Linked DNA regions of Homo sapiens: regions 1, 3, 4, 5 and 6 are each linked to region 2. Evidence: promoter capture Hi-C in 16 types of primary human blood cells and fetal thymus (Javierre and others, 2016). All regions are on one chromosome and are shown on one strand. The core of a region is centred on a gene start or on the middle of the fragment in contact, and the rest is flanking DNA. Distances in the headings are between cores, read along the strand shown. Region 1 overlaps LOC101927045 (a long non-coding RNA gene). Region 2 holds the start of CHMP4A (charged multivesicular body protein 4A). Region 3 overlaps CARMIL3 (capping protein regulator and myosin 1 linker 3). Region 4 has its middle 8.8 kb from the start of CARMIL3. Region 5 overlaps NYNRIN (NYN domain and retroviral integrase containing). Region 6 has its middle 23 kb from the start of DHRS4L2.

Region 1 (3,422 bases), core at 75-2,574, 230 kb before region 2:
GGTAATTTACAGATTTAATGCCATCCCCATCGAGCTGCCAATGACTTTCTTCACAGAATTGGAAAAAACTACTTTAAGGCTCATATGGAACCAAAAAAGAGGCCGCATTGCCAAGACAATCCTAAGCCAAAAGAACAAAGCTGGAGGCATCATGCTACCTGACTTCAAACTATACTACAAGGCTACAGTAACCAAAACAGCAGCGTACTGGTACCAAAACAGAGAGATAGACCAATGGAACAGAACAGAGCCCTCAGAAATAATACCACACATCTACCACCATCTGATCTTTGACAAACCTCACAAAAACAAGAAACAGGGAAAGGATTCCCTATTTAATAAATGGTGCTGGGAAAACTGGCTAGCCATATGTAGAAAGCTGAAACTGGATCCCTTCCTTACACCTTATATAAAAATTAATTCAAGATGGATTAAAGACTTAAATGTTAGACCTAAAACCATAAAAACCCTAGAAGAAAACCTAGGCAATACCATTCAGGACATAGGCATGGGCAAGGACTTCATGTCTAAAACACCAAAAGCAATGGCAAAAAAAGCCAAAATAGACAAATGGGATCTAATTAAACTAAACAGCTTCTGCACAGCAAAAGAAACTACTATGAGAGGGAACAGGCAACCTACAGAATGGGAGAAAATTTTTTGCAATCCACCCATCTGACAAAGGGCTGATATCCAGAATCTACAATGAACTCAAACAAATTCACAAGAAAAAATCAAACAACCCCATCAAAAAGTGGGTGAAGGATATGAACAGACACTTCTCAAAAGAAGACATTTATGCAGCCAACAGACACATGAAAAAATGCTCATTATCACTGGCCATCAGAGAAATGCAAATCAAAACCACAATGAGATACCATCTCACACCGGTTAGAATGGCAATCATTAAAAAGTCAGGAAACAACAGGTGCTGGAGAGGATGTGGAGAAATAGGAACACTTTTACACTGTTGGTGGGAGTGGAAACTAGTGTGGAAGGGAGTGTGGTGATTCCTCAAGGATCTAGAACTAGAAATACCATTTGACCCAGCAATCCCATTACTGGGTATATACCCAAAGGATTATAAATCATGCTACTATAAAGACACGTGCACATGTATGTTTACTGTGGCACTATTCACAATAGCAGAAACTTGGAACCAACCCAAATGTCAATCAATGATAGACTGGATTAAGAAAATGTGGCACATATACACCATGGAATACTATGCATCCATTAAAAAGGATGATCCATTGTAGGGACATGGATGAAGCTGGAAACCATCATTCTGAGCAAATTCTCGCAAGGACAAAAAACCAAACACTGCATGTTCTCACTCATAGGTGGGAACTGAACAATAAGAATGCTTGGACACAGGGTGGGGAACATCACACACCGGGGCCTATTGTGGGGTGGGTGTGGGGGGAGGGATAGCATTAGGAGGAATACCTAATGTAAATGATGAGTTAATGGATGCAGCACACCAACATGGCACATGTATACATATGTAACAAACCTGCACATTGTGCACATGTACCCTAGAACTTAAAGTACAATAAAAAATTTTTTGAATTAAAAAAATTTTAATTTTTCAAAGTTCAGGTTGGTTCTTTTATCAATTCTGCTGGTATTTTTTGATAGCATCTTGTCTCTTTCTCATGTTTTTAATTTCTTCTCTTTCTTAAACGTTTTAAACTTTGGTAATTTTATATTCTATACCTCTAAATTCTAACACTTTAAATCTTTGTCTAAATCTGCTGTTTTCTGTTTCGGTTTGGTTTGATTTTATTTGACACCCTCAGAGTGCTTTGTTTCCTTGTGTGTTTTGTAATTTTGTATTGTATGTTTATGCTTGGCAGGATTTTATCTATTGAAATCCTGTGAAACCAAACCAAGGGAAGATTTATGTCTTCTATCTGGAACACTTAATTTAAATTCTTGGGTTAGAGCTTTCTAGGCCAAGTAGGTAACAATTAATTCAAACCACAAATATGCAGGCGGACAGGACAATAGATACAACTTCTCAAAGAACGGTAATTTTTTTGACAACCAATCCTAGACAAGAGCAAAGCCTAGAGAAACAAGTTTCCAGGCCATGTTCTTTGATACCAGGTGGACTTTTAAAGTTTACTTTTTATCTGAGAACACAGCCCAAGGGCTTTATCCAGGGGTCTCAGTCCCAAATTTGCTTCGATCTCAGGCATGGTCTCCTGTCACCCAAGCCTCTGGGTTACTGAAACTAAAAGTCACAAAATACCTGTTAAAGAAAATTATTCAGTGACACTTGATAGAGTAAGGTAAGGAAGACTTTCCATCACAATAGGTACAGGTACCACTACAATGTGGTCTTGCAGTGGGAGAGATTGGGGTCAAGTATGAAACAACATGGGCAAGTGGGAATTTATAGCCAACGAATACGGTGGGGGTCAGTGGATGAAAAATTAGTAAGAGAAAAATATCAAGGGTAAGAGGGATTCTGGCTAACCCAAACTAACGGGATTCATGTGAAGATAGGCCAAGGTGATCAGACATCACCTAGGGGATGAAGGATGAGGGGCCTGATCAGAGATTGAGAGTGATCAGATATCAAGGGTTGAGGGGGTTCTTGCTAAACTGACTTAGCAAGGCTCTTTGCGAAAACTGGATTTTACAAAGAGGTGTACAAATGAGCCTAGAAGGTTCAGAAGCCTGACTAAAGTTTGGCCAAGCAAATAATCTTTGTCATAACCTCAGTCCCAAGACACATTTCATTTTTTGGCTTCTGGGATTTTTTTATTTTTCTAGCTAACTTGGCAATACATTTAAATGGAGGTATGTTTAATTTTATCCAGCATATCCAGGAATTTTAAACTGGGAGTTTTTTAAACTATACGTGCCACTATAATGTTCCCCTCATATGGTTTTCAAAGATCACTCAGCTTGCAATGTGTGAAATAGTTTGGAGAGGAGAAACATGCAAAAGCAGGAAGACCTACTAGGAGACTACTGCAGATATTTACACAAGACAGAATAACTCATAAGACGATTGTGATGGCAGAGACAGAGGGAAATATGAGGAAATTTCAAAATGTTGTGGAAAAATCAATTAAAAGATTAAAAAATATAAAATATAAACTTTATTTCTCAACATAAGTTCCACCAACTTCAAGACACTTTCGTAAGAAATGACACCAGCCATTTAGTACACCCTAAAGAACTGAGGGTCCTGGAGACTTAACCACATCAATACAGTCCTTTTTACATTATTAACTGAAGAAAACTGGGTGCCCTTGACAGAATTTCTTAAGATTAAGAAACAAAAAGAAGTCAGAAGGAGCCAAATCAGGTGGATGCCTAAAGATTTCCCATTGAAACTCTAACAAAATTGTTCTTGTATGATGAGAGACATGAGCAAAAGCATTGTCACGGTGGAGAAGAACTGT
Region 2 (3,150 bases), core at 166-2,665:
GCTGAGGTGGGAGGATCACTTGAGCCCAGGAGGTCGTGACCACAGTGAGCCGTGATTGGGTCGCTGCACTCCAGTCTGGGCAACAGAGCTAGACCCTGTCTCAAAACAAAAGCTAAAACATTGGCCCAGCACCAATTGTGTCAAATAGGAAGGCAATGGAGTTAAACAGAGGCTGAGGATGCCTGTCCATCCCGGAAAAACAGCAAGTTGATTTCCCTGGTTATACTTACTAACTTTGCTTAATAAGTTAACGTAGCCCTGGCCCTTCACTTTGCTAATCCCATCTTTTACACCGTTTTGCAGGACAAGTGAGATAGAAGGGGCCAACCAGCTACTGGAGCTCTTTGACCTCTTCAGGTACTTTGTTCATCGGGAAATCTATCCAGGCAGCAAGATCACACACTTTGAGAGGTATGCGGAGATAAGGGAGGAGCAGGGTGAGAAAGTATCAGAGAGGCCTGGGAAACCAAGATACTAGCTTGGTTACTCCTGCCCTGTCTTGAATAGGTTGCAGCAGAAGACTGGAATTCCTTTCTCCCAGATGATCTTCTTTGATGATGAGAGGCGGAATATTGTAGACGTCAGCAAACTGGGTACTGAGTGATGAGGAACAGCCATTTGGGGTCCCTAGGAGGGATTAGGTAGATACATACAGGTTGGATAGTTTGCCCTATAGGTGGCACTCACAAAGGTCAGAGTAATAATGGAGAACCCTGAAAGCTTAATGAAATGTGACTTCTTATCTTTCTAGGTGTTACCTGCATTCACATCCAGAATGGAATGAATCTTCAAACTCTAAGTCAAGGGTTAGAGACATTTGCGAAGGCCCAAACTGGGCCTTTGAGGTCCAGCCTTGAGGAGAGCCCATTTGAGGCCTAAACTGAAAGGAAATCAAGAAGGCATTTTCAGGTGCATTTGTAATTTATTAAAGTTCATCTGTGTGTGACAGAAGAGATTTTACCCACAGTGTGGGGAGTTTCTATTTTTCTAGCCTGTGAAATGGGGTTGGTTGTCCTGAGGTGCAGAGACCAGAATGTGAGACATTAGACTGCATCAGGTTTGCCATCTAAACTTAGGGCAACCCCAAGTGCTTGAACCTATACCACCCCACTTTCCTGAGCTCTGTAAAGAGCATGAAGTTTTCCCACTGACCCCATACACTGAGGTGCCATCACACTGCACATTTCCTTCCGGAGAACAAGCACGTACTCAGGTGGAGATAGAACTGTCTTTTTACTTAATAGAAAATGATGTGGCAGCTTTAAGAGGAGCGCGTCGGTCTGGGGCTGGTGGCTTGGGTCACGTGACACCGGTGGTCTCGTTTGCGCCTCTTGATGTCGCGGCGGCGCCCTGAGGACGGATTGGGCAAGGCTGGTCCCTGTGTGATGAGACATCACCCTCCCAGGAGCAAGGCGGAAGTCTGGAGGACGCTGAGGGGCGGAGGCGGGAGAGGCGAGCTCGCGATGAGTGGTCTCGGCAGGCTCTTCGGGAAGGGTGAGCCAGGGTGGGACTGGCCAGCCAGGAGGCGCTGGCTGGTGCAGGGGAAGAGGAGACCCCGGCGAGATTCGGCCGGACCGCTGCGCCGGGCAGGGGAAGAGAATCAGGAGACAGGCTGACTGGAAAACCCCGGCGGCCGATGGCGGAGCAAGGCTCATCGCCGGTGCCAAAAGGCACACCATGTCGGGGCGCCTTGTTCCCGTCCGCCGTCCTCCCCCACTCTCAGAGGGAAGAACTCAAGATCTGGGAGGGGACTTGAGTTGAGGGCGTGGCGATCGTGCTGACTCCCACTGTTCAGGCTTGAAGACGAGTTTCCTGCTGTCTTCAGCCATTTTCAAAACCTTGTTCTATAATACTTTGTGCTGGGCAAGAGGGATCTAAGGTGAAGAAGAAAGACTGCCTTCTTAGCCCGGCGCGGGGGCTCACGCCTGTACTCGCAACACTTTGGGAGGCCGACGTGGGTGGATCATGAGGTCAGGAGTTTGAGATCAGCCTGGCCAATATGGTGAAACCCCGTCTCTACTAAAAATATAAAAATTGGCCGGGCGCGGTGGCTCACGCCTGTAATCCCAGCACTTTGGGAGGCCGAGGTGGGTGGATCACCTGAGGTCAAGAGTTCGAGACCAGCCTGGACAACATGGTGAAACCTTGTCTCTACTAAAAATACAAAAAAAAAAAAAAAATTAGCTGGTTGTGGTGGCACGCGCCTGTAGTCCCAGCTACTGGGGGAGGCTGAGACAGGTGAATCGCTTGAACCCAGGAGGCGGAGGTTGTAGTGAGCCAAGATTGCACCAATGCACTCCAGCCTTGGTGACAGAGGGAGACTCCATTCTCAAAAAAAAAAAAAAAAATTAGGTGGGCATGATGGTGTGTGCCTGTAGTCCCAGCTACTCAGGGAGGCTGAGGCAGGAGAATCACTTGAACCCGGGAGACGGAGGTTGCAATGAGCTGAGATCATGCCACTGCACTCTGGCCTGGGCAACAGAGCGAGACTCTGTCTCAAAAAAAGAAGTCCTGGCGCGGTGGCTCATGCCTGTAATCAAAACACTTTGGGAGGCCGAGGCGGGCAGATCACCTGAGGTTGGGAGTTCGACACCAGCCTGACCAACATGGAGAAAGCCTGTCTGTACTAAAAACACAAAAAATTAGCCAGGCATGGTGGCACATGCCTGTGATCCCAGCTATTTGGGAGGCTGAGGCAGGAGAATTGCTTGAACCCAGGAGGCGGAGGTTGAGGTGAGCTGAGATCACGCCATTGCGTTCCAGCCTGGGCAACAAGACTGAAACTCTGCCTAAAGAAAAAAAAAGAAAGGCAGCTAGGAATAGTAAAAAGAATATTGGTTTTAGAACTCATACTGCCACATCTTGATTCCTGCACAATCTCTTATTAGTTGTGATTTTTAACATCTTTGTGGTTGTTTTCACATTTTTAAAGTGAAGAGATAGCACGTTCATTGTAGAGATTTGGGGATTAGCAATAACACAGTCAGGTCTCTAGCACATACTATGTATTCAATGATTGGTGGCTAATATTTTTCCTTCACAAAATTTGGGCCTACTCCACTGGACTCCTCAGGGAAGAAGGAGAAAGGGCCAACCCCTGAAGAAGCAATACAGAAACTGAAGGAGACAGAGAAGATACTGATCAAGAAA
Region 3 (3,354 bases), core at 621-3,120, 150 kb after region 2:
ACTAGCTGTGGGCTGGCTGCCCCCAAGTCCTGAGAACCAGCCAGGGGGGATCCCCAGATTCCCCAGTTGGCTTTCCATGTCCTGAGGGCTCCCGCCTGCAAAGACAGCAGCATTAGAGGGACTAGCAGAGGAATGGGGAGAAAGCAGGATGGGGAGACAGAGAAAAAATCAAGGGAAAGAGGGGCTACAGAGGGCGGGAGTCTGGAGTCCATGAGAACGGAGGCTGGGAGACTCACTGATGAAGGCAGACACCGGCCGAATCTTGCGGCAGCGTTTCTGCTTTTTGATGGCCATGGTGTCCTGCAGAAATGAAGACGAGTGGCAGGGCCAGGCACCTCACCCAGAGCCATCCATTCCTCATGAAACCTTATTTGAGCCCATCCTGCCCCTCGCTCCTCAGGGGGCTGAGGCACTGGGATGAGGGAAGAGGTTGGGCTGGATTGAGATTGGAGGCAGAAGGCCAGGCACAGTGAGGTGGCCAGGGGAGTACAGATCAGTGGAAGGGGACAGTGTTGTGCAGGTTTAAGGGCAGGGCCCAGGTTATTAAGGAGGAGCAGGGAGCGGGGGGCTCACAATGTTGGTCCCAAGTTCATCATCTGTGGTCTCCTCATGGTCATGGTTCCGGCCTCGGCCCCGGGAGGACAGATCCTGCCCTTGGCCTGGGCACCCTGGTGGATCTGACAGCGTCCTTAGCTGGGTCAGGTGCCGGGCCTGGGGAAGGGCAGGTGTGAACAGAATTCCATGGAAGCTGCCCACCTCCCAGGGCCTTGAAGGGGAGGGTGATTAGGGAGACAGGATAATGTGGGGTGGAGGGCGTGCCCGAGCCAGGCCAGGCTGCAGAAGAAGCCTTACCAGGCTCTTGTGGGAATGGTAGAGCTCTTGCAGGATCTCATCCACTATGGAGCTGGTTAGGTAGGTGACGACTGAGAGCTTCACTTCACTGTGGGCACAGGTGGGGCTACTCAGAACATTAGCACCTCAGTCCCCCGCATGGCCCCTGAGGCACTCCCTCTCCCAGAAGCCTGAGAGAACGGCCAGCTGGCCTGGTCTGTCTGCCCATGGAGCGCATGTGGCTGCTGAAGGAGGCAGCCTAGCCCTTGACACTCATTTCTCCACAAATACACGTCTAGTCCCACCCCAGAGCCCCCAGCCCAACTATGTGTGGGGAAAGAGGAATTCGAGGAGAAGGAGCAAGGGGGCCCTAGGTCAGGCCCCTGGAGCCCCAGTGGAACAGAGCTAGGTAATTGGGGTGCTGAGTAACTAAACCCTGCTAGTTGCTACTGTGAGGGTAGGAAAGACCCTTCCTTGGGCCTAGCTGTTTCATAGGTATGTGTACTAGTTTTCCTTTGGTTTGGTGAGTGGTGGCACCCAGACCCAGAATGAAAGAACTCTAGGGGCAATGAAAACTGGGAGGAAGACAGTGCTTCCATGCACCCAACTCAGGTACTTTTCTTTGTCCATGCCTCCGAGGAGGCCCTGCTATCCCATTCCTGGTGTATTTGTGTGGGTATGTGTGTGTACACCTGTGTGGGCACAAACTTGGCTCCTAAACCCCAGCTCAGCACTTAGATTTCTAGGGCAAAGACCAGCCAGACCCTAAATAGCAAGGTTGCACTTGGTTAAAGATTGATCCTTGTAATGGAGATTGTGCCATTCATTATTCATTGCTGATAGCTCTCCAGTCCTAAGTCCCTAAGTGATCTGGGCCAAATCCAGCTCAGCCCCAGCCCTGCCCTTTGCCTCTCACTCCAGCTTGTTCTGAATGTCCTGTCCTGCTTGCTCCAGCAGTGCCCCTCGGATGAAGTTCCGGGGCACAGTGACACGCTCCGCCACATTGCTCAGCATCTTGTTGTGTCCCTCGGCCACCCGCATGGCCACAGGGCATAACTCCTGTGTCAGGCTGACCATGGACTCCAGGATCACCTAGTATGGGGGAAAGGGAGGCCAGAGGCCCAAGGGGGACAGGATCAGGGCTGGCACCACAGCAGAAGAGACTTTATCTATTCCAGCCCCTCCTGCTGAGACTGAGGGACCTGCCTAAGTCACAAAACTGTTAGTGGCAGAGCCTTGGACACTAAGGCTTCCCCACTTTCTGGTCAGTGCTCCTTCCACCCTACCATACAGACAGGGGCAGTCAGTCCAAGGATCCAAATCCAGAGCAGGGAGGTCAGAGTTCAGGGACCAACATCAAAGCTAGCAGAAAAAAATCCAAGCCTGATATTGCAGCAATGCCTTGGTACAGTGGGAGCGTGGGTGGTCTCAACTCTGCATGTCCTCCTGGCCCTCCAGAAGTCTCCCAGCTCTGACTTTAGCTCTGGGCTTAGGGCCTCAGTCAACACTAGGTTCCCACCATGGATTCCTCCCTCCTCCAGGACTTGCCTGCAGCTCCTTGTCCACAGCTTTGGACACCTCACTTGCTACTGATTCCAGCCTCTGCCGCACAGGCCCATCATTGGCCAGCACGTGGCCCAGCTCATAGAGGCTGGGAAACAGCTGGAGAAGGAAGGGGTTATGATTAGCAGGCCAGAACCAGGACTTGCTAGGTCTCTGGGGTCCCTGGGCTAGGAAGGCAGATGCACAGGGCAGGGCTGTCATGGCTTAGCATGGTCGGCCTTCTTGGGTTCTCCAGACTTCAGGGGAAGGGTAGCCTGTGGAGGGCTCACCGCCCGGGAGTTCTTGGCATCTTTGATGAGGTCCCGAGCGTAGAGTAGCTCATCCTGCACAGGCTCCAGGGGGCATAGTCTCAGGGCCCGCACCTCCTCCTGCACTCGTCCACACAGCCGCTGCAGCATCTGGAGCACAGTGGCAGGGGTGTCAAGGGGACCCCTGCTTCCACATCTTCGCAGGTAGGACCCCTTAGACAGTGCTACTGGTGCTGGCACCGACAGTGGTGGAGGTGATGTCTCTGGCTGGCCTGGTCCCCATTGCTACAGCCTTCTTGAATGCCCAGCTGAGCTCCCAGAGTCCTGTGCACTCCTGCTGTTCGCCCACATATGTTTGAAGCCCATATCCTGCATGTCCTCTCTTTTTGCTTCCCCACATGCTCAGTCCAGTGATAGGCACCATGCAGTGCCTCTTCATGCTCCCCCACTCAATTTTCCATCACATCACACTGTGCCCTGCATGCCCCGGGTATGCCCCGTGTCCCAGAGGGAAACGTTTACTTGCTCGGCGCTGCTGGTCACCAGGCCCTGCTGCAACCTGAAGGCCTGCTCCTGGGGGCACGTCTGGGAGTGGTTGTTCCTCACTAAGCACCATTGGATCTGGAGATGATGGGGTTGGTGGGTCAGGGCCTGGGGATGGGGGCTGCCCCCTGCCCCTTGCTGTGCCACCCTGCTTAGGACAGCACCCTGC
Region 4 (3,592 bases), core at 759-3,258, 170 kb after region 2:
GCCGAGATGGTGCCATTGCACTCCAGCCTGGGCTACACAGTGAGACTCCATCTAAAAAAAAAAAAAAAAAAAGACCCTCCACCAGCAAAAAGATTACAACTTCTAAAGGCTCAGATCATTGTTAGCACTTTTTAGCAATAAAGTATTTTAAAATTAAGATATGTATATATTTTTAAAGACATAATGCTATTGCTCATTTAATAGACAACCATTAGATGACCATTATAGTGTAAACGTAACTTTTATATGCACTGGGAAACCAAAAAATTCGTGTGTCTCACTTTATTATAATATTCACTTTATTGTGCGGTGGCCTGGAACCAGACCCACAATATCTCCGAGGTGTGCCTGTACTTAGTTTAAAACTGACTTTCATAGGGTCTCTATTCAGACTGTTCATGAAAGATGTTCCTCCATTGTAAAGACTATCAGAATCTGTCTGGGTGCAGTGGCTCACGCCTATAATCCCAGCACTTTGAGAGGCCGAGGTGGGTGGATCAGTTGAGGCCAGGAATTTGAGACCAGCCTGGGCAACACAGTGAAACCCTGTCTCTACTGAAAATATCAAAAATTAGCCGGGCATGGTGGCACATGCCTGTAGTCCCAGGTACTTGGCAGGCTGAGGCACAAGAATCGCTTGAACCTGGGAGGCGGGGGTTGCAGTGAGCTAGATCGCAGCACTGCACTCCAGCCTCGATGACACAGCGAGGAAAAAAAAAAAAAGAGGGACAAAGCTTAACAATAAAAAACTAGCTCACTGAAGAACATTTTGGCACTTTGGTCTTTATGTGTATGAAACACTGGTAAATAAATCATAGTGTTTTCACATCCTGATACTTTAGTGTTGAGAAATGTTTGATGACATCTGATATAGTTGGTATGTTTGTCCCCTCTAAGTCCCATGTTGAAATGTGATCACCAGTGTTCAAGGTGGAACCTGGTGTGAGGTGTTTGGGTCATGGGGTGGATCCCTTATGAATGGCTTGGTGCTCTCCTGGTGGCAATTAGTGAGCTCTCACTCTATTAGTTCATGCCAGAGCTAGTTGTTTAAAAGCCTGGTATCTCACTTCCTCTCTTGCCATGTAACGCGCCTGCTCCCTTTTGCCTTCTGCTATGATTGTAAGCTTCCTGAGGCCTCATCAGAAGCAGATACTGGCACCATGCTTCTTCTGCAGTCTGCAGAAGTGTAAACCAAAACAACCCTCTTTTCTTTTCTTTTTTTTTTTTTTTTGAGACGGAGTCTCGCTCTGTCACCCAGGCTGGAGTGCAGTGGCGCAATCTCGGCTCACTGCAAGCTCCGCCTCCCGGGTTCACACCATTCTCCTGCCTCAGCCTCCCAAGTAGCTGAGACTACAGGTGCCCGCCACCACACCCGGCTGATTTTTTGTATTTTTAGTAGAGACGGGCTTTCACCATGTTAGCCAAGATGGTCTCGATCTCCTGACCTCGTGATCTGCCCGCCTCGACCTCCCAAAGTGTTGGGATTACAGGCGTTAGCCACCGCGCCCGGCCACAACCCTCTTTTTCTTTATAAATTGCCCAGCTCAGGTATTCCTTTATAGCAACGCAAAACAGACTAATACAACATCAGAGTAAAAAGCAAAACCATGGGAGATCATAAAAAATTAGCATTTCCAAATCGTGGGACTATTAACCTTAGTATACAAAGACAAATATTTTAATTAAAGCTTTGTAATTAAAGAATGTGTGTGAAATATATTACGAATGTAATGTAATTATATACTTACACATAAAACCCAATATTGTACCACTTGAATATAGACATCTGGATCTCAGATTTTCTTGACATTGCAGTTAGGAAGAAAATAATATAGGTTTTTATTTTTACTTTTTTAAAGGATGTATATTATAAAGTGGCAACTGGTTATTTCACCAGAATTAGTATTTTACTTAACTAGCAGCTTTTAATATTTCCCAGCTAATGAAAAATGATTCCTTTTTGGCAGCTGAAAGGGGGACAGTTGGGTGTGTAAGTTTAAGTGTCATAGTTGTTGGCATATTAGCTGCCACGTCTCTGTTGGAAATCAACCAGGTAGCAGAGCATGCCGGGAAGAAGGCTGGGGAGGGGAGCAGACGGTGGATAGTGAAGGGCAGATGGAAGCAGACAGAAGTAGGAGCAGCAGAAACGAATGAGAAGGGCAGGGACAGAGGAAGCTGCCCCCACCCGCCCTTTACCAGGTGTGCTCCAGGTGTGTGGCATGTGGCAAAGACTCCTCACATTTACACTGCACTTGATAAACACATTCTAAAAGCAGACGGAGTTTGTTATCGATAGTGATAGGATATCAATAACTCCATGAAGCTTCATAGCCTAGGGAGAGGGGTAAGGTCTGGACCAGGGCTGCAGTAAGTAAGGGAGGTGCATTTATTCACGTTGATAAAAACTTCCTTCTGGGCGGGGCGTGGTGGCTCACGCCGGGAATCATGGCACTTTGGGAGGTCACGGTGGGAGGACCACTTGAACTGAGCAGTTTGAGAGAAGCCTGGGCAACATAGGGAGACCTTATCCCTATATTTAAAAAAACAACAACAATGACAACAACAACAACAACAAATCTTCCTTCTTAGGAACTATCGTCAAAATAACTTCTATTTCTTAAAACATCTTTTTTGAAAACTACCCTAAGATCTGCTGCTAACCATTTAAGGTTGGCTTCTTTCTTTTTTTAGATGGAGTCTTCCTCTGTCACCCAGGCTGGAGTTCAGTGGCATGATCCCAGCTCACTGCAGCCTTGACCTACTGGGTTCAAGCCATCCTCCTGCCTCAGCCCCCCAAGTAGCTGAGAATACAGGTGCGTGCCATCACACCTGGGCAATTTTTGTACTTTTTGTAGAGACAGGGTCTTGCCATGTTGCCCAGGCTGGTCTGGAACTCCTGAGCTAAAGCCATCCGCCTGCCTCGGCCTCTCAAAGTGTTACAGGTGTGAGCCACCAGGAAGTTGGCCTTATTTCTTTTGCAGTGTTTTCTTCCCACCTCCTATTCTTCTAAGGCTGTCTCTGACCCTATGCTCTTTTCTTTACATTTTCCCATTTGGGAGCTCCTTCATTCTCGTGATTTCAAATCTCACCCCAAAATCTATTTCCAGACCCCTCCTCTTCCTTTCACACTGAGTTCCACCCACATTTCTCCAAGTGCTTACTGTCCAGTTCTTCTTGAATAAGTTACCATTATTTCAAAGTCAATCTGGCCACACTTACCTGAATGGAAAAACTGGCTTAAATAGAGCTGTAGAAAGTTACCCTGGAGGGGCCTTTGAGATCATCTATTCCAATGTCCTTAAGGTGGAGATGATGAAACAGGTTCAGGGAATTTTCTCAAGATCATATAGTTCAGTAGTAACACACTGGGGCTAGCTAAGAACAGGAGGCCTGCTTATTCCGTGTTGGGGAAAGTGATTTGTTCAGGGCATAAAGCTAGTTAGTGGTGGAAGAACTGAGGTCAGTCTCCCACTTTGTAGCACAGAGCTAATTCGTAAGAGCCCTCTGAAAGTGAGCTGGGGTCATTAGGAAACCGGCTGCCCAGGAGAGCCATGATGGGAGAAGATACCAGCCTGAATTTAAAGCAATTCCA
Region 5 (3,117 bases), core at 211-2,710, 190 kb before region 2:
GAACAGTAATAGTTCCTGCCTCATTGGGCCACTCTGAAGCTTCAGTGAATTAATACGCAGAAAGTACTGAGGATGACACCTGGCACAGCCTGTTCCCATTTTGCAGGCTGAGAAGAGCTATGCAGCTTGCCCAAGGGCACACAGCTAGAGGCTCTGATACTAGAAATTTTTCCACCTCCTCTGGCAGACCACAGTGACTACAGGGTAATCATGTGAGACTCGAGCTTCATCCCCCTCCAGAATGCCTCTAGCACAACCTGTACCCCTAATCATAGTAACTCTGTTGCCCAGAGGCAACAGAGCAGGAGATAAGCCACTGGGCCAGTGTCCAGGGGAACCCCTGCACCCGCACATACACACAATAGCTAAAGAGAAGGAAGAACTCTGGCTTTCTGGGCAGACCAAGTCCTAGAGTTCACAGAGCTCACAGGGCACACACTTGCCATCTTTAGCAGTGGCTGGGGTGGGCGAGGTTGGGGTTTCTCCACTCTGGCTGAGTTCCATCTGTGCGGTCCCATGAGCTCTCGCTCCAATCAGCCACCCCATGTGGACTTCATATGCCCCCATGCCCCTCCACATCCCCTTTCTTTGATAGTCATCCCTCTCATCCCTCTTCCTGCTTTCCCCTGGCAGTCCCATACTCCATTTTGGATCTCCAGCAGCGATCCTGAAGACCACCCAGGTGCCTCTGCTCAGTCCCCGGGCCATCTTTCCCGGCTCAGGCCTACGTGTCCCTCTTCCACCTGGCCGAGGCCACAGACCTGCAACTTCTTCCTCAGAGCCTGAAATACATGTCTAACCCCTTTTCAATCAGTTCAAAACCAGCTCAAAACCTGATGGACATCCCAAGCCAACCCCTCCTACCCCAACCTCATCTGGTCCCACTGCCTAGCAAGGTTAAATCTGAGCAGGTGTGGGCTGTCTCAGACCTTAACAAATATTCCCCCACCCCAGGCACCCCCATTTCAATGACCGGAAAACAACATGAAAAATGGAGAGATGTGCTGGGGAAGAAGATTATGGGTGGCTTCTTTCTCTTTCTGCAGAGAGCTTAGAATATTTATGGTTCCATCAACTGTCCAATATTTTATTTTATTTTATTTTATTTTATTTTATTTTATTTTATTTTATTTTTTGAGGCAGAGTCTCACTCTGTCACCCAGGCTGGAGTACAGTGGCACAGCTAGAGGCTCTGATACCAGAATTTTTCCACTGGAGTGATCTCAGCTCACGGCAGCCTCCGCCTCCTAGGTTCAAGAAATTCTCCTGCCTTAGCCTCCCCAGTAGCTGGGATTACAGATGTGCACCACCATGCCCGGCTAATTTTTGTATTTTTAGTAGAGATGGGGTTTTGCCGTGTTGGTCAGGCTGGTCTCGAACTCTTGACCTCACGCGATCCACCCGCCTCAGACTCCTAAAGTGCTGGGATTACAGGTATGAGCCACCGTGCCCGGCCCGATATTTTAAAATTAAGAAATATATAGGAACTGTGATAATTTTTAAAATAATAAATATGAACTAATATTTAGTGAGAGCTTATTATGTGTCAGGCACTTTGCACACATTATCTTATTTATTCCTCTCTCTGCCCTTTAAGGAAATACTATTATCCCCATTTTAGATGAGCAAGGAAGGCCATATGTCCAAGATCACACAGTTAGTAGGCTGGGATACTCAGGCACTCTAGCTCCACAGTCGGGGGTCTTCACCATGATGCCGTCTATACTGTAGAGGGAGAGAAGATAAGGAAACAACAGGCATTTACAGCCTGAAAATACCTGAACAGCTTTCCTGCCTAAAGCCAACCCAGACCTTCTTCCTCCAAGAGGAGAAAAAGTAGAGAAGAAGAGGCAGGAACAACTAACAACTAGGTAGAAAGATGATACAGAAGAATAGAAAAGGACACAGAAAAAGAGCACTGTATTTGTAAGAATATATTGTCCAATACCCACAGGTCGTTAGTCAACTTGTAAGTTAAATAAAAGCATTTATATGACATATTTTAATATTATTCTGTACTTGTCAAGGTGCTTTATTACTTAACACCTAACTTAGGGTTCTCCTTTCTCATAAGTCAGTTATCATTCATTGTCTACTTTCCAGAACCACCCCAATTTACACTGCAGGATACTCAAAAGGCTCAGAAAACAACAACAAGAAACTCTGGAATTGGAAGTGAAGGGGAACATGAAAAACCAGGTTCTTTGAGGAGCAGTTAGATCTGGGAGCCCAACCACTCCCAACACACATACACACACACACACACATTCACACACATTCACACACATTCACACACACACATTCTCTCACACACACACACACACACACACACACACACACAGGCTTGGCAAGTAGCTTCCCGCTCACTGGAGGGCTGTTCTCCAGGGAGTACAAAACAAGGTCTTAGGAGTCGAGGTTGATCAGCATAATCGAAGGTGTGAGCACCACACAAAAAAACATGGAGGGAGTGAGGAGGGCCAAAGAATGATGTATACAATGCAAGCTAAACGCAGAGAAACTCATTCTTCCCACTCAGAGATTTGCTTGGCAGCCAGACCCTGACCCTCCAGGCCAGGGAAGCAGGCATACATTCTGGAAAACCTGGCCAGCCCAAGAGCAGAGACTTAAAGATCACAAAACGGGGTCCCTAACCAACAGCACCTGCAAATCTCTGTACAATCAAGCTCAAAACCAACAAGTCTTGCCCACAGCCTCCACTCCCAATCAGCTTTTTGTCCTTCACTCTTTATCATGCAAGGATTATCAGGCTTGTGAGGAAAACTTCTAATGTGAAACACAGAGGACAAACCATACAGGAAAACAAAAAAGCAACCTGAAAGAAGAGAAACTAGGGGGGAGAAGAAAACTTCAAAAAGCTTACTATCATTTCTATCCTCAGAGAGGTAACAAAGAATATGGTAGACACTAAACAAGAATAGAATACATACGTTTCAAATTGGATTTAAAAAGCGTAGGATACTATTTTTTAACAGAGAGAATATAAGTGACTTCTAGACATTAAAAATTTGATGGCAGAAATGAAAGACCCAAGAAAAGGCTTCAAAGATAAAATTAAGGAAATCTTCAGAAAGCAGAACAAAAAGTTAAAGTTGAAAA
Region 6 (3,268 bases), core at 126-2,625, 200 kb after region 2:
TGGGAAAAGATTCAGGACCCAGGAACCTCCTGCCCTTCTTTTAGTTCAATCAGACAAGGCTCTAAAGAGCCATATCCAGACTTTGTGGCAAGGTTGCAAGATGCAGCTCAAAAATCGATTGCAGATGATAACGCCCAAAAAGTTGTTGTAGAAATAATGGGTTATCAAAATGCAAATCCAGGATGTCAATTGGCCATAAAGCCATTAAGAGGAAAGGTTTCAGCAGGAGTTGATGTAATTACAGAATATGTGAAGGCTTGTGATGGGATTGGAGGAACTATGCATAAGGCAATGCTACTGGCTCAAGCAATTACGGGGGTTGCTTTAGGAGGACAAGTTAAAACATTTGGGGGAAAATGTTATAATTGTGGTCAAATCGGTCATCTAAAAAAGAATTGCCCAGTCTTAAATAAACAGAACAAAAATAAACAGCCACCTGGCCTGTGTCCAAAATGTGAAAGAGGAAAACACTGGGCTAAGGAATGTTGTTCTAAATTTGATAAAAATGGGCAACCATTGTCAGGAAACGAGAAGAGGGACCAGCCCCAGGCCCCGCAACAAAGTGGGGCATTCTTGATTCAGCCATTTGTTCCTCAGGGTTTTCAGGGACAACAACCCCCACAGTAAATACCACCATTCCAGGGAATCAGCCAATTACAACAATACAACAGTTATCCCCCACCACAGCAGGCAGCGCAGCAGTAGATTTATGTTCTACTCAAATGGTTTCTTCACTCCCTGGAGTGCTCCCTCAAAAGATTCCTACTGGGGTGTATGGCCTGCTGCCAGAAGGGATGGTAGGCCTTATTTTAGGAAGATCAAGTCTAAATTTAAAGGGAGTCCAAATTCATACTGGGGTAATTGATTCAGATTATAAAGGGGAAATTCAGTTAGTGATCAGCTCTGCTGTTCCCTGGAGTGCCAATCCAGGTGATAGAATTGCTCAATTATTGCTTTTGCCTTATATTAAAATTGGGAATAGCAAAACAGAAAGAACAGGAGGGTTTGGAAGTACCAACCCTGCTGGAAAAGTTGTTTATTGGGCTAGTCAGCTCTCAGAGAATAGACCTGTGTGTACAGTCACTATTCAGGGAAAGCAGTTTGAAGGATTAGTGGCTACTGGGGCTGATGTTTCTATTATTGTCTTAAATCAATGGCCAAAAAATTGTCCTAAACAAAAGCCTGTTACAGGATTTGTTGGTGTGGGCACCGCCTCAGAAGTGTATCAAAGTGCCATGATTTTACATTGTCTAGGCCCTAATAATCAAGAGAGTACAGTTCAGCCTATGATTATTTCTATTCCAATTAACTTATGGGGCCGAGACTTGTTAGAACAGTGGCATGCAGAGATTACTATTCCAGTCTCCCTATACAGCCCCACGAGTCAAAAAATCATGACTAAAATGGGATATCTCTCTGGTAAAGGACTAGGGAAAAATGGAGAAGGCATTAAAGTCCCAATTGAGGCTAAAAAAATCCAAAAAAAAAAAAAAAAAAGAAATAGGGTATCCTTTTTAGGAGTGGCCACTGTAGAGCCTCCAAAACCCATTCCATTAACTGGGAAAACAGAAAAGCCTGTATGGGTAAATCAGTGGCCACTACCAAAGCAAAAACTGGAGGCCTTACACTTAGTGGCAAAGGAACAATTAGAAAAGGGAAACATTGAGCCTTCATTTTCACCTTGGCATTCTCCTGCGTTTGTAATTCAGAAAAAATCAGGCAGATGGTGCATCCTAACTGATTTGAGAGCCATCAATGCAGTAATTCAACCCATGGGGACTCTCCAACTTGGGCTGCTTTCTCCGGCCATGATCCCCAAAGATTGGCCTTTAATTATAATTGAGCTAAAGGATTGCGTTTTTACCATTCCTCTGGCAAAATAGGATTTAAAAAAATTTGCTTTTACTATACCAGCCATAAATAATAAAAAACCAGCCACCAGATTTCAGCGGAAAGTGTTGCCTCAGGGAATGCTTAATAGTCCAACTATTTGTCAGACTTTTGTAGCTCAAGTTCTTCAACCAGTTAGAGACAAGTTTTCAGACTGTTATATTATTCATTATGTTGATGATATTTTGAGTGCTGCAGAAACGAGAGACAAATTAATTGACTGTTACACATTTCTGCAGACAGAGGTTGCAAACGCAGGCCTGACAATAGCATCTGATAACATTCAGACCTCCACTCCTTTTCATTATTTGGGAAAGACCAACAGAGAAAAAAGAGAAACTGGGAAAGAAAGGAAGAGAGAAAGTGAGAAGAGAAATCAGAAAGAGAAAGGAGAGAAAACGGCAGATGTGGAGAGCCAGGGAGAAAAAGAAAAAGAAAAAGAGACTGAGTGTGAAGGAGAGAGGACACGGGATGACAGACAGAGAGAGAGAGAGAGAGAGAGAAAGAGAGGGAGAAAATGAGTAAGAGAGAGACTGGAAAAGACAGAGATCAGAGAAAGACACAGAAGGTGAGACTGGGGAAAAAAATAATGTAAAAGAGAAAGACAGAGATCAGAGAGAGACACAGAAAGTGAGACTGGGAAAAGAAATAGTGTAAAAGGAAGAAAAAGAGAAAAAGAGAGAGAGACCATAAGAGAAGGGAGACAATGAAACAAAAAGTGCGAGTGAGCAGGTGAGGAGAAAGATTGAAAACTATGAGAAACAACAACTAAGAGACAAAGGAGAAGGGAGACTGCCTGGGTGCCGGAGCACCCACACTGTCCTCTTGCCCCCATCACTTGGGTTAAAACCATTGGAAATTCCACTATTGCAAATTTTGTATTAATCCTTGTATGTCTGCCCTCTCTATTGTTAGTCTACAGGTGTATCCAGCAGTTCCAGAAAGACAGTGACCAGCAAAAACAGGCCATGGTGACAATGACAGTTTTGTCAAAAAGAAAAGGGGGATATGTAGGGAAAAGAAAGAGAGATCAGACTGTTACCGTGTCTATGTAGAAAGGGAAGACATAAGAGACTACATTTTGAAAAAGACCTGTACTTTAAATAATTGCTTTTCTGAGATGTTGTTAATTTTTAGCTTTGCCCCAGCCACTTTGACCCAACCACTTTGACCCAACCTGGAGCTCACAAGAACATGTGTTGTATGAAATCAAGGTTTAAGGGATCTAGGACTGTGTAGGACGTGCCTTGTTAACAAAATGTTTACAAGCAGTATACTTGGTAAAAGTCATCGCCATTCTCTAGTCTCAATAAACCAGGGGCACAGTGCACTGCAGAAAGCCGCAGGGACCTCTGCCCTTGAAAGCAGGGTATTGTCC

The links. The method cuts DNA at HindIII sites, captures the fragments that hold promoters and counts their contacts. A CHiCAGO score of 5 or more calls a contact.
Region 1: a fragment that was not itself captured here is called in contact with the fragment with the promoter of CHMP4A in region 2 in 4 of 17 cell types (neutrophils, non-activated CD4 T cells, naive CD8 T cells and 1 more); the score reaches 9.0 in neutrophils.
Region 3: a contact is called between a fragment that was not itself captured here and the fragment with the promoter of CHMP4A in region 2, in 2 of 17 cell types (activated CD4 T cells and total CD8 T cells). The highest score is 6.3, in activated CD4 T cells.
Region 4: a contact is called between a fragment that was not itself captured here and the fragment with the promoter of CHMP4A in region 2, in 1 of 17 cell types (total CD8 T cells). The highest score is 6.2, in total CD8 T cells.
Region 5: a fragment that was not itself captured here is called in contact with the fragment with the promoter of CHMP4A in region 2 in 1 of 17 cell types (total CD8 T cells); the score reaches 6.4 in total CD8 T cells.
Region 6: a contact is called between a fragment that was not itself captured here and the fragment with the promoter of CHMP4A in region 2, in 1 of 17 cell types (total CD4 T cells). The highest score is 5.9, in total CD4 T cells.

What each region holds. Positions count from the first base shown.
Region 1 is chr14:24,445,726-24,449,147 of GRCh38, reverse strand. The region is part of intron 2 of LOC101927045 (a long non-coding RNA gene); the gene reads right to left. Among named protein-coding and RNA genes, the nearest start is that of SDR39U1, 4.7 kb to the right of the region's middle. The HindIII fragment of the contact is 4,219 bases long and covers 1-3,422 here.
Region 2 is chr14:24,211,753-24,214,902 of GRCh38, reverse strand. It overlaps CHMP4A (charged multivesicular body protein 4A), which reads left to right and starts at 1,415. Exons shown (of 6, transcript NM_014169.5): 1 at 1,415-1,494; 2 at 3,074-3,150. The coding sequence starts at 1,464. NEDD8-MDP1 (NEDD8-MDP1 readthrough) reads left to right here. Exons shown (of 7, transcript NM_001199823.3): 5 at 304-411; 6 at 508-593; 7 at 752-960. The coding sequence ends at 879. It overlaps MDP1 (magnesium dependent phosphatase 1), which reads left to right. Exons shown (of 6, transcript NM_138476.4): 4 at 304-411; 5 at 508-593; 6 at 752-960. The coding sequence ends at 879. RefSeq lists enhancers at 1-111, 1,266-1,560, 1,197-1,696, 1,124-1,932, 1,887-2,006. The HindIII fragment of the contact is 5,751 bases long and covers 723-3,150 here.
Region 3 is chr14:24,060,066-24,063,419 of GRCh38, reverse strand. It overlaps CARMIL3 (capping protein regulator and myosin 1 linker 3), which reads right to left. Exons shown (of 40, transcript NM_138360.4): 24 at 3,165-3,263; 25 at 2,664-2,792; 26 at 2,380-2,493; 27 at 1,748-1,923; 28 at 853-940; 29 at 574-711; 30 at 237-300; 31 at 1-95. Among named protein-coding and RNA genes, the nearest start is that of CARMIL3, 9.7 kb to the right of the region's middle. The HindIII fragment of the contact is 4,487 bases long and covers 1-3,354 here.
Region 4 is chr14:24,041,428-24,045,019 of GRCh38, reverse strand. It overlaps the pseudogene DHRS4L1. Among named protein-coding and RNA genes, the nearest start is that of CARMIL3, 8.8 kb to the left of the region's middle. The HindIII fragment of the contact is 635 bases long and covers 1,691-2,325 here.
Region 5 is chr14:24,404,219-24,407,335 of GRCh38, reverse strand. The region is part of intron 2 of NYNRIN (NYN domain and retroviral integrase containing); the gene reads right to left. Among named protein-coding and RNA genes, the nearest start is that of NYNRIN, 6.8 kb to the right of the region's middle. The HindIII fragment of the contact is 2,837 bases long and covers 42-2,878 here.
Region 6 is chr14:24,010,352-24,013,619 of GRCh38, reverse strand. It overlaps the pseudogene DHRS4L1. Among named protein-coding and RNA genes, the nearest start is that of DHRS4L2, 23 kb to the right of the region's middle. The HindIII fragment of the contact is 5,186 bases long and covers 1-3,268 here.